Regions from separate parts of the Homo sapiens genome. Here region 2 is linked to region 1. Evidence: promoter capture Hi-C in human tissues and cell types (Jung and others, 2019). All regions are on one chromosome and are shown on one strand. The core of a region is centred on a gene start or on the middle of the fragment in contact, and the rest is flanking DNA. Distances in the headings are between cores, read along the strand shown.

Region 1 (5,415 bases), core at 1,744-4,243:
CTAGGAAGTTCTGCTCCTGTGTTAAGACACCCAATTGGTACCACGTTTAACAAATGAGATCCTGTCTGGTCTTGTACAAAAGCAATAAAAGGATCTTCTTCCTAAAAGCACTGAGGACAAGAAAAAGAAAAGTATGTATCAATAAGAAACTCACATGAACCTCATCACTTGCGACTTATGAGAGAAAGAAGAACAGAAAAGGTGTCCTGTCTTCCCTTCAAAATCAACTAGCAGGCCCTTTGTTTTTCTCCTTTTCTATTATTCAGCTGAAGCACAGCACAAAACACACAAATGTCAGTGGACAACTGTCTTTTTTATAAAAAAGAAAACAATTTAGGAAAGATTGGTGGGTAAGAAAATTGGCACCCACTGGCTGAAAGGTATTTTGGGATTTTCCAAGGATTTAACTGGTGTGCCTCCTATCCCATCTTCCCCATAAGAAAAGAATAGGAGAAAATAAGATTAGGAAAACATTCTGAGATTCTCTTAAATTTCAACAGATCATCCCAGTCTGTCTCTAGTAAGGGGAGTACAACTTTTATGACCCTTCATCCTCTTGTGAAGATGGAAGCCTTCACTTTAAAAATATTTTAGGCCAGGTGCAGTGGCTCATGCCTGCATTCCCAGCACTTTTGGAGACCGAGGTGGGAGGATCACTTGAGCCAGGAGTTTCAGACCAGCCTGAGCAACATAGCGAGACCCCGTCTCTACAAAACACAAAATTTGAAGAAAAAAAAAAAAAATAGCCAGGATGGTAGAGCACACCAGTAGTTCTAGCTCAGGAGGCTGAGGTGGGAGAGTCGCCTGAGCCCAGGAATTCAAGGTTGCAGTGAGCCATGACCTCATCACTGCACTCCAGCCTGGGAGTTAGAGCAAGACTTTGTCTCTAATTTAAAAACTAAAAATAAAGGCACCTTAAAAAACAACATTTTAGATTTTCCATTGTAGGAATACTGGCAAAAGAGCTGAGACGGTGAGATCAAAATACAGTAGTATCCCTTCTCCAAGGGGGGTAAGTTCCAGTACATTCTGTGAATACCTAAAACCCCCAACAGCATCTAACTGCATTATACTATTTTCTCTATGTATACATAGCTATGATACCTTAATTTATAAATTAGGTACAATAAGAGATTAACAATAAAACACTGTAGTAAGAGTTATTTAAAACTGGCGGTGCGCCGTGGCTCATGCCTGTAATCCCAGCACTTTGGGAGGCCTGACGTGGGTGGATCACCTGAGACCAGGACTTCAAGACCAGCCTGGCCAACATGGTGAAACCTTCTTTATTGTAAACACAAAAATTAGCCAGGTGTGGTAGTGCGCGCCTGTAGTCCCAGCTACCCAGGAGGCTGAGGCAGGAAAATTGTTTGAACCCGGGAGGTGAAGGCTGCAGTGAGCTCAGACTGTGCCACGGCACTCCAGCCAGGGCAGCAAAACGAGATTCCATCTCCAAAAAAAAAAAAAAAAGTTATTTAAAACTTATGAACTGTTTATTTCTGGAGTTTTCCATTTAATATTTTTTGGATGGCAGTTGACAGCGGGTAAGTGAAACCCAGATACAGTGGGGGGAGGGGGTACTACAGAAAGTAAAAAAGTAGCCTATTTTCAGACAATGTCTCCCAAGTAAGCAACAAGATGCTCATCATTCTTTGCAACACACATAAAGGGTGCCATGCAGATGATTTATACGAATTTTGTTTTTTTTTTTGAGATGGAGTCTCGCCCTGTCACCCAGGCTGGAGTGCAGTGGCGTGATCTCAGCTCACTGCAACTTCCACCTCCCCGGTTGAAGCCATTCTCCTGCCTCAGCCTCCCGACTAGCTGGGATTACAGGCGCGTGCCACCATGCCCGGCTAATTTTTGTGTTTTTAGTAGAGACAGGGTTTCACCATCTTGGCCAGGGTGGTCTCGATCTCCTGACCTCGTGATCCACCCATCTTGGCCTCCCAAAGTGCTGGGATTACAGGCGTCAAACACCGCGCCAGGCCTATATGAATTTTTAACTGTGCTTACTTGATCTGGAGAAAATTACAGCTGACCTCTGTTTACAAAATATCAACTTGTAAAAAAGGATATTTTATTTACAAAATATCAAGTCGTATTTTCTTTCTGTCGCTGATGTTTATGAAATATCAACTCCAACAGGAGTTGGTGACGATGAAAGTGAAACTTTCTGCTGACTTTGTATTTCTCCAAAGGTCATTTAGACTTCTAAGGGGGGCTGAGGAGAGCCGTGAGCCTCACTTTTCCTGAAGTGAGCCAGCAGAAACGGCACCGAAATTCTGCCCAGGATGCCACCGGTATTCAAAGAAGTGGCCAGCTCCTTGCTGCCCACCCCGGTTCCAGAAGCAAAGAGACACTTCCTATGTTTTTGCATCAGTAGAAGCTGCTAGCCCTGAGGCTCAACCGACCGCATGACATCGGCCGGACACGGAAATGCCGGCGGAGGCGGGAAAGAGTCTGCGGGCGCAGCTGCAGGCACTGCTGCCCGCCAGCACTCGGATTCGCCACAGCCTGTGTCTGCGACAGGCGTGCCCGTGGGCACTGGGCAAGCGGGCAGTGTCCCAGCGAGCTTCAGCCGCGCCTCTGGGATACAGCTGCGAAAAGCGGGGAGAGAATGGTTTCTCGTGCCCGACGGTGGCCCCGCCTCAGGCTCCAGCCGCGCGGCCCGGAAGCGCCGCGGCCACCGCCTACGGAAAATGGCTGCCTCCCTGCGGCCGCCGCCGCTCCAGCGGCTCCAGGGTCGAAGCCATAGGGGAAGCCGCTTCTCGGTTACCTCGGCCAGCTTGGCTTCCGTGGAGGCCGCTCCTCGCTTTCTGAGGCTCAAACGCAAGCCACCGCCCGAAAGGCCGCCGATCTGAGGAGCGCAACCGCCAGCCCACCGCTGGCCTACCGCAGCCCTGTCCAGGTACAGAGCCAGAGCGCCGGCCGGAAGTGGAAGTGACGCTTTCCGAGGGTGGCGCAGGCCCGCCCTCTGGCTAAGGCGCCTGAGCCCGGCCTACTTCCTCGCCAGAGAAACTGCTGTCTTCCCCGGCGGTAGGGAAGGGTTAATGCCACCGAGTATCCAGACCCGCTGAAGCCTAGAGGGCCTTGTACCGGCTCACCGCGTGGCTGTCGCTGTCTCGTGTCCCCAGTGGGGGAGGCGTCGCACTGCCGCGTCTGTTCTGCGTGGCTGTCGGGCGGCGTTTGGTCCCGGGAGCCTCGCCGGGTAAGGGTCGCCTCCCAGCTGCGCGCGCCGCGTTCTCGGGCTTCCCGCGGCCCGGCCGGCCGTGCTCGAGCTGTTGCTGGGCTCGTCGCCGCCTCCTCGAGGAAGAGGCATTTTGTCCGGGTCGGGCCACTCGCTAGGTCAGAAACAGCGGCCCCCCGAGGGTTTTGTACCGTTTTCTAGGTCTCGTGACGCATTCCCCACAACTATTTTTTCTTGAGGTAGGTTTGAACCTGTGAAATAGGTTCTTTTTCTATCTCTCCTTGACAGAGAAACGGAGACCTAAGAAGTGACTTGCTCAGGGTCACATAGCTCAGCAGTGGCGGCCGCTAATCGGAAATAGCTCTCCTGTTGTGGTATCCTCTGCGTTTTCCACTCCAGTATTCTTCCCTGGAAAATGGGAACCTTGTTTTCATCTTATATCTCATGCAGCGCCTAACATAGTCACCTGGTAAGATAGGCATTCCACACATATTTACTGAATCATAGTTATAAGAATCTGAGTGTTTTGGGTGTTCAGTGATCTCTGAATTAATCCGTTTTTGTAATGTCAGTCTGTACCAGTTGAGGGATTATTTAATAAGTCCAGTATGAGTGGTTTCGGAATTACCAGTTTTTGTAACGTCAGCTTATACCAGTCAAGGGACTATTTATTAAGTCAGCTATGTGTAGCCAATATTGCAGAGTTGAGTAAGAAGTCTTTGTCCTTAAGCAATCTCTTGAAAGGACTGAGCAATTTCGTGAATATCAGTAACACAAGGGTAAGAATAGGACATAAACTGAATGCTGTGAGAACTCCAAGAAAATCCAAGTTGATTTGGGGTTGGGGGAAATTATAAAAGACCTTGAGGGATTTTGTCCACAGCAGGGAATGGAGACACTTTCCAGGCAGAGGGAAGGGTAGGAGTAAAGGCTTTAAAAGCTGGAAACATTAGACTGTGAGATCTTAGGTACGTTTTTACTGAGTTGGGCTGCATTTAGAGGAAGAGTTTTAAAAGTTAGAAAACGAGTTTATGTGGCACTTATACTGGAGTCCTTTGAATGGGAATGAAAAGAGTGCATTTAAGAAAGTAAATCCTGGCCGGGCGCGGTGGCTTACGCCTGTAATCCCAGCACTTTGGGAGGCCGAGGCGGGCGGATCATGAGGTCAGGAGATCGAGACCATCCTGGCTAACATGGTGAAACCCCGTCTCTACTAAAAAATACAAAAAAAAATTAGCCGGGCGTGGTGGTGGGCGCCTGTAGTCCCAGCTACTCGGGAGGCTGAGGCAGGAGAATGGCGTGAACCCGGGAGGCGGAGCTTGCAGTGAGCCGAGTTCACGCCACTGCATTCCAGCCTGGGCGACAGAGCGAGACTCCGTCGCAAAAAACAAAACAAAACAATACAAAAAAGTAAATCCTGGAGCACCATTTGAGCGTTTTGGACTGAGCTGCTTTCTATGGCAGTTCATCTAAGGTAAGTTTAAGGTGAGAATGAAGATGAGAGGCCATTACCAGGCCATTATGCTATTTTTGCTTTTGGATGGGATGGTATGTAACTCCTCTTAGGCATAGATCTTGATCCTTTTTAAGTGAGAGAGAAAGATAAACAGATTTAATAATGAGCATCTGCCTAAGTCACTTGAATTTGTGTCTAAGTAGGTTCATTTCCTTAAAATCTCAGCCAGGTTGGGACTTCATTTCTTCAGCAGTAAATATTCTCAGTCTATCAGAACCAGTGGACAGTAGCGCCATCAGCATTAAGATTCTCATCACCTGGCCCAATGCTGAATATATAATTAGAATTTATTAAGTTGAATAAGTGAAGTTCTGCTAGCAGTGCTAAGCAGTGCCCTTGGATATCATTGACAGGCCTGATTCATAACACAGGAAGTTGGTTAAAGGGAAAAGGGATTCATGGGAAAAAGAGGCAGCAAGGCACAAATTGTGAATAGTGAATAAGAGGCACTGGTGATTTTCATTGTGTGAGGTTTGCTGCCATAGTGGCTTATCCTTTGAAGCCCACAAACATTCCTTGAGCCTTTCCTTTTGGTTTCACCTCCCCTTGCTTGGGCACTGTTTTAGAAATGATGACTGTGGCTGGGCGCAGTGGCTTACACCTGTAATCCCAGCACTTTGGGAGGCCTAGGTGGGTGGATCACTTGAGGTCAGGAGTTCGAGACCAGCCTGGCCAACATGGCAAAACCTTGTCTGTACTAAAAATATAA
Region 2 (5,415 bases), core at 1,092-3,591, 120 kb before region 1:
AAAAGAAAATACCTGCAAATAATATATCTGATAAAGTCATCAAATATATGAGGAACTCACACAACTCAAAAACAAATTAACCAAATAGCCCAATTAAAAAATGGGCAATGAATTTGAATGGACATTTTTCTAAAGAAAACATAAAATAACCAACACATTGAATGAGGAAAAGCAGGATGGATTCCCTTTGAAAACTGGCACAAGTCAATAATGCCCTCTCTCACCACTTTTATTCAACGTAGTATTGGAAGTCCTGGCCAGAATAATGAGGCAAGAGAAAGAAAGAAAAGGCATCCAAATAGGAAGAAAAGAAGTCAGACTCTCCCTGTTTGCAGATGACATGTTTCTATCTAGGAAACCCCATTGTCTCAGCCCAAAAGTTCCTTCAGCTGATAAACAACTTCAGCAAAGTTTCAGGATACAAAGTCAATGTACAAAAATTACCGGCATTCCTATGCACATACAACAGCCAAGCCGAGAGTCAAATCAGGAAGGCAATCCCATTCACAATTGCCACAAAAAGAATAAAATACCAAGCCGTGCATGGAGGCTCACACCTGTAATCCCAGCAAGATTCCATCTCAAAAAAATAAATAAGTATATAAAATACCTAGGAATACAGCTAACTAGGGAGGTGAAAGATCCCTACAATGAGAATTACAGCACACAGCTGAAATAAATCAGAGATGACACAAATGGAAAAACATCCCATGCTCATGGATTGGAAGAATAAATATCATTAAAATGGACATATTGCCCAAAGCAATTTGTAGATTCAATGCTATTCCTATCAAACTACCAATGACATTCTTCATAGAATTATAAAAAACTATTTTAAAATTCACATGGAACCAGCTGGCTGCGGTGACTCACACCTGTAATCCCAGCACTTTGGGAGGCCGAGATGGGCAGATTACGAGATCAGGAGATTGAGACCATCCTGGCTAACACGGCGAAACCCCATCTTTACTAAAAATACCAAAAAAAAAAAAATTAGCTGGGCATGGTGGCAGGTGCCTGTAGTCCCAGCTACACATGAGGCTGAGGCAGAAGAATGGCATGAACCCGAGAGGCGGAGCTTGCAGTGAGCCAAGATTGCGCCACTGCACTCCAGCCTGGGCAACAGAGCAAGACTCTGTCTCAAAAAAAAAAAAAAAAAATTCACATGGAACCAAAAAGAGCCTGAATAGCCAAGGCAATCCTAAGCAAAAAGAACAAAGTTGGAGGCATCACATTACCTGACTTCAAACTGTCCTACAGGGCTACAGTAACCAAAACAGCATGGTACTGGTACAAAAACAGGCACATAGGCCAATGGAACAGAATAGAGAGACCAGAAATAAGGCCACACTCCTAAGATCATCTGATCTTCAATAAAGCTGACAAAAACAAGCAATGGTGTGTGGGTGGAGGGAATCCCTGTTCAATAAATGGTGCTGGGATAATTGGCTAGCCATATGCAGAAGATTGAAACTGGACCCCTTCTTTACACCATATACAAAAATCAACTCAAGATGGATTAAAGACTTAAATGTAAAATCCAAAGCTATAAAAACCCTAGAAGACAACCGAGGCAATACCGTCTTGGACATAGGATCGAAAATATTTCATGACAAAGACTCCAAAAGCAATTGCAACAAAAGCAAAAATTGAGACATGGGACCTAATTGAACTAAAGAGCTTCCTCTGCACAGCAAAAGAAACTATCAACAGAGTAAACAGACAACCTCCAGAATGGAAGAAAATATTTGCAAATATGCGTCTGACAAAGGTCTAATATCCAGCATCTATAAGGAATGTAAACAAATTTGCAAGAGAAAAACAACCCCATTAAAAAGTAGGCAAAGGACATGAACAGACAATTTTCAAAAGAAGACATACATGCAACCAACAATCATAAGAAAAAAAGCTCAATATCACTAATCATTAAAGAAATGCAAATCAAAACCATAATGAGATACCATCTCACACCAGTGATAATGGCTGTTATTAAAAAGTCAAAAAATATGCTGGCAAGATTGCAGAGAAAAGGGAACACTTATACACTGTTAGTGGGAGTATAAATTTCGCCCAACCATTGTGGAGAGCAGTATGGCGATTCCTCAAAGTGCTAAAAAGAGAACTACAGTTTGACCCCACAATCCCATTACTGGGTATGTACCCAGAGAAATATAAATCATTCTCTTGTAAAGACACATGCACATGAATGTTCACAGCAGCACCATTCACAATAACAAAGACGTGGAATCAAAGGCCCATCAGTGACGACTGGATAAAGAAAACGTACATATACACCATGAAATACCGTGCAGCCATAAAAAAGAATGAGATCATGTCTTTTGCAGGAATATCGATGGAGTTGGAGGCCAGAAACTACTGGCAGGAACAGAAAATACTGCACGGAACTTTCTTTCTTTCTTTCTTTCTTTCTTTCTTTCTTTCTTTCTTTCTTTCTTTCTTTCTTTCTTTCTCTCTCTCTCTCTCTCTCTCTTTCTTTCGTCTCTCTCTCTTTCTGTGTTTCTTTCTTTCTTTTTTTTGATGGAGTCTCACTCTGTCAACCCCTGCTGCAGTGCAGTGGTAGGACCTCAGTTCACTGCAACCTCTGCCTCCCCGGTTCAAGCGATTCTCCTGCCTCAGCCTCCCGAGTAGCTGGGACTACAGGTGCATGCCAGCATGCCCGGCTAATTTTTGTATTTTTAGTAGAGACGGGGTTTTGTCATATTGTCCAGGCTGGTCTCGAACTCCTGACCTCATGATCTGCCCACCTTGGCCTCCCAAAGTGCTGGGATTACAGGCATGAGCCACCGCACCCAGCCTGCATGGAACTTTCAATACTGTTCCACTGACCAGCCATACTCCCATCGCTCTTCCTCTCCTTGGACCTCCCTTTTCCCTGAGACACAAAAATATTGACATTAGACCACTTAATAACTCTACGATGACCTCTAAGTGTTCAAGTGAAAGGAAGAGTCACACATCTCTCACTTTATTTATTTATTTTTGGAGATGGAGTCTCGCTCTGTCGCCCAGGCTGGAGTGCAGTGTCGTGATCTTGGCTCACTACATCCTCTGCCTTCCAGGTTCAAGCGATTCTCCTGCCTCAGCCTCCTGAGTAGCTAGGACTACAGGTGTGCACCACCACTCCTGGCTAATTTTTGTATTATTAGTAGAGATGGGGTTTCACCATGTTGGCCAGGTTGGTCTCCAACTCTTGACCTTGTGATCCACCCACCCCAGCCTCCCAAAGTGCTGAGATTACAGGCATGAACCACCCCTTGGCCCATCTCTCACTTTAAATCAAAAGGTAGAAATGATTAAGCTTAGTGAGAAAGGCATGTCAAAACCTGAGACAGGCCAAAAGCTAGGTTTCTTGTGCCAAATGTTTAACCAAATTGTGAATTCAAAGGAAAAGTTCTTGAAGGAAATTTAAAGTGCTACTCCAGTGAACACATGAATGATAAAAAAGTGAAACAGTCTTTTTGCTGATATGGGGCAAGTTTGAGTGGTGTGGATAGAAGATCAAACCAGCCACAACATTCCCTTAAACTAAAGCCTAATCCAGAGCAAGGCCCAAACTCTCTTCAGTTCTGTGAAGGCTGAGAGAGGTGAAGAAGGTGCAGAAGAAATGTTGGGAAGTAACAAAAGTTGGTTCATGAGGTTTAAGGAGAAAAGCCATCTCCATAATATAAAAGTGCAAGGTGAAGCTTCAAGTGCTGATGGAGAAACTGCAGCATGTTATCCAGAAGATCTAGCTAAGATCATTGATGAAAGTGGCTACAATAAGAACAGATTTTCAATGTAGACAAAACAGCCTGCTATTGGGGAAAGATGCCATCTAAGACTTTTGTAGCTAGAGAGGAGAAGTCAATGCCTGGCTTCAAAGCCTTAAAGGGCAGGCTGACTCTTTTGTTGGGGTGAATGCCGTTGGTGAAGCCAGTTCTCATTTACCATTCTGAAAAATCCTGAAGCCCTTAAGAATTATGTTTATTCTGCCTGTGCTCTATCAGTTGAACAACAAAGACTGGATGACAACCTATGTGTTTACAGCATGGTTTGCTGAATATTTTAAGCCCATTGTTGAGACCTACTGCTCAGAAAAAAAAATATTCCTTTCCAAATATTACAGTTTATTACAATGCACCTGGACAACCAAGAGCTCTGATGGAGATATACAAGGAAGTTAATGTTTTCATGCCTGCTAACACAACATTTATTCTGCAGCCCATGGATCAAAGAGTAATTTCATTCTTCTCTTTATTTCATTTTATTTTTTTGAGATGGGCTCTCACTCCCCCAGACTAGACTGCAGTGGTACAATCATAATTCATTGCAGCCTAGCTCCTGGGCTCAAGTAATCCTCCTGCCTTGGCCTCCCAAGCAGCTGAGACTACAGCATGTGCCACCACACTTGTCCAATTTTTTAAATTTTTCTGTAGGCTGGGTGTGGTGGCTCACGCCTGTAATACCAACACTTTGGGAGGCCAAGGCAGGCAGATCACAAGGTAAGGAGATCAAGACCATCCTGGCTAACACGGTAAAACCCTGTCTTTACTAAAAATACAAAAAATTTGCCGGGCGTGGTGGCATGTGCCTGTAGTCCCAGCTACTCAGGAGGCCGAGGCAGGAGAATTGCTTGAGCCTGGGAGGTGGAGGTTGCCGTGAGCCAAGGTTGCACCACTGAACTCCAGCCTGGTGACACAGCAAGACTCTGTCTCAAAAAAAAATGTTTTTCTCTGTAGCGATGGGGACTTGATATGTTGCCCAGGCTGGTCTTGAACTCCTGGGCTCAAGTGATCCTCCCACCTCAGCCTCCCAAAGTGCTGGGATTACAGGCATGAGACACTGCTCCCAACCATAAGTGTTTGGTTTTGTTTTGTTTTTGCTTTTGTTTTTGTTTTTTTTGAGACAGTCTCACTGTGTTTCCCAGGCTGGAGTGCAGTGGCGTGATCTCAGCTCACTGCAACCTCCAACTCCTGGATTCAAGCGATTCTCCTGCCTCAGCCTCCTGAGTAGCTGGGAGTACAGGAGCACGCCACCACACCCAGCTAATTTTTCTATTTTTGTGGAGATGGGTTTTGCCATGTTGGCCAGGCTTGTCTGGAACTCCTGACCTCAAGTGATCTGGGTGCCTCAGCCTCCCAAATTGCTAGGATTACAGGTATGAGCCATGACACCCAACCATTTTGTTTTTTGAGACAGGGTCTTGCTCTGTCACTCTGGCTGAAGTACAAATGGCACAATCACAACTCACTGCAGCCTCAACCTCCTAGGCTCAAGTGATCCTCCCACCTCAGGCTCCCAAGTAGCTGGGACTACAGGCATGCACCACCATGCCCAGCTAATTTTTTAATTGTTTTGTAGAGTTGGGGTCTTCCCTGTGTTAACTCCTGGGCTCAGAGAGCAGTCCTCCCACCT

Evidence for each region. Contacts are between HindIII fragments. The study calls those that stand out against the background at their distance.
Region 2: a fragment that was not itself captured here is called in contact with the fragment with the promoter of TIGD7 in region 1 in 3 of the 25 tissues and cell types used here (adrenal gland, spleen and stomach).

What each region holds. Positions count from the first base shown.
Region 1 is chr16:3,303,008-3,308,422 of GRCh38, reverse strand. It overlaps TIGD7 (tigger transposable element derived 7), which reads left to right and starts at 2,993. Exons shown (of 2, transcript NM_033208.4): 1 at 2,993-3,211. ZNF75A (zinc finger protein 75A) reads right to left here and starts at 2,926. Exons shown (of 7, transcript NM_001302109.2): 1 at 2,780-2,926; 2 at 1-110. RefSeq lists an enhancer at 2,903-3,432. The HindIII fragment of the contact is 22,904 bases long and covers 1-5,415 here.
Region 2 is chr16:3,417,654-3,423,068 of GRCh38, reverse strand. No RefSeq gene overlaps it. Among named protein-coding and RNA genes, the nearest start is that of ZNF174, 19 kb to the right of the region's middle. RefSeq lists a silencer at 2,484-2,766. The HindIII fragment of the contact is 7,760 bases long and covers 1-5,415 here.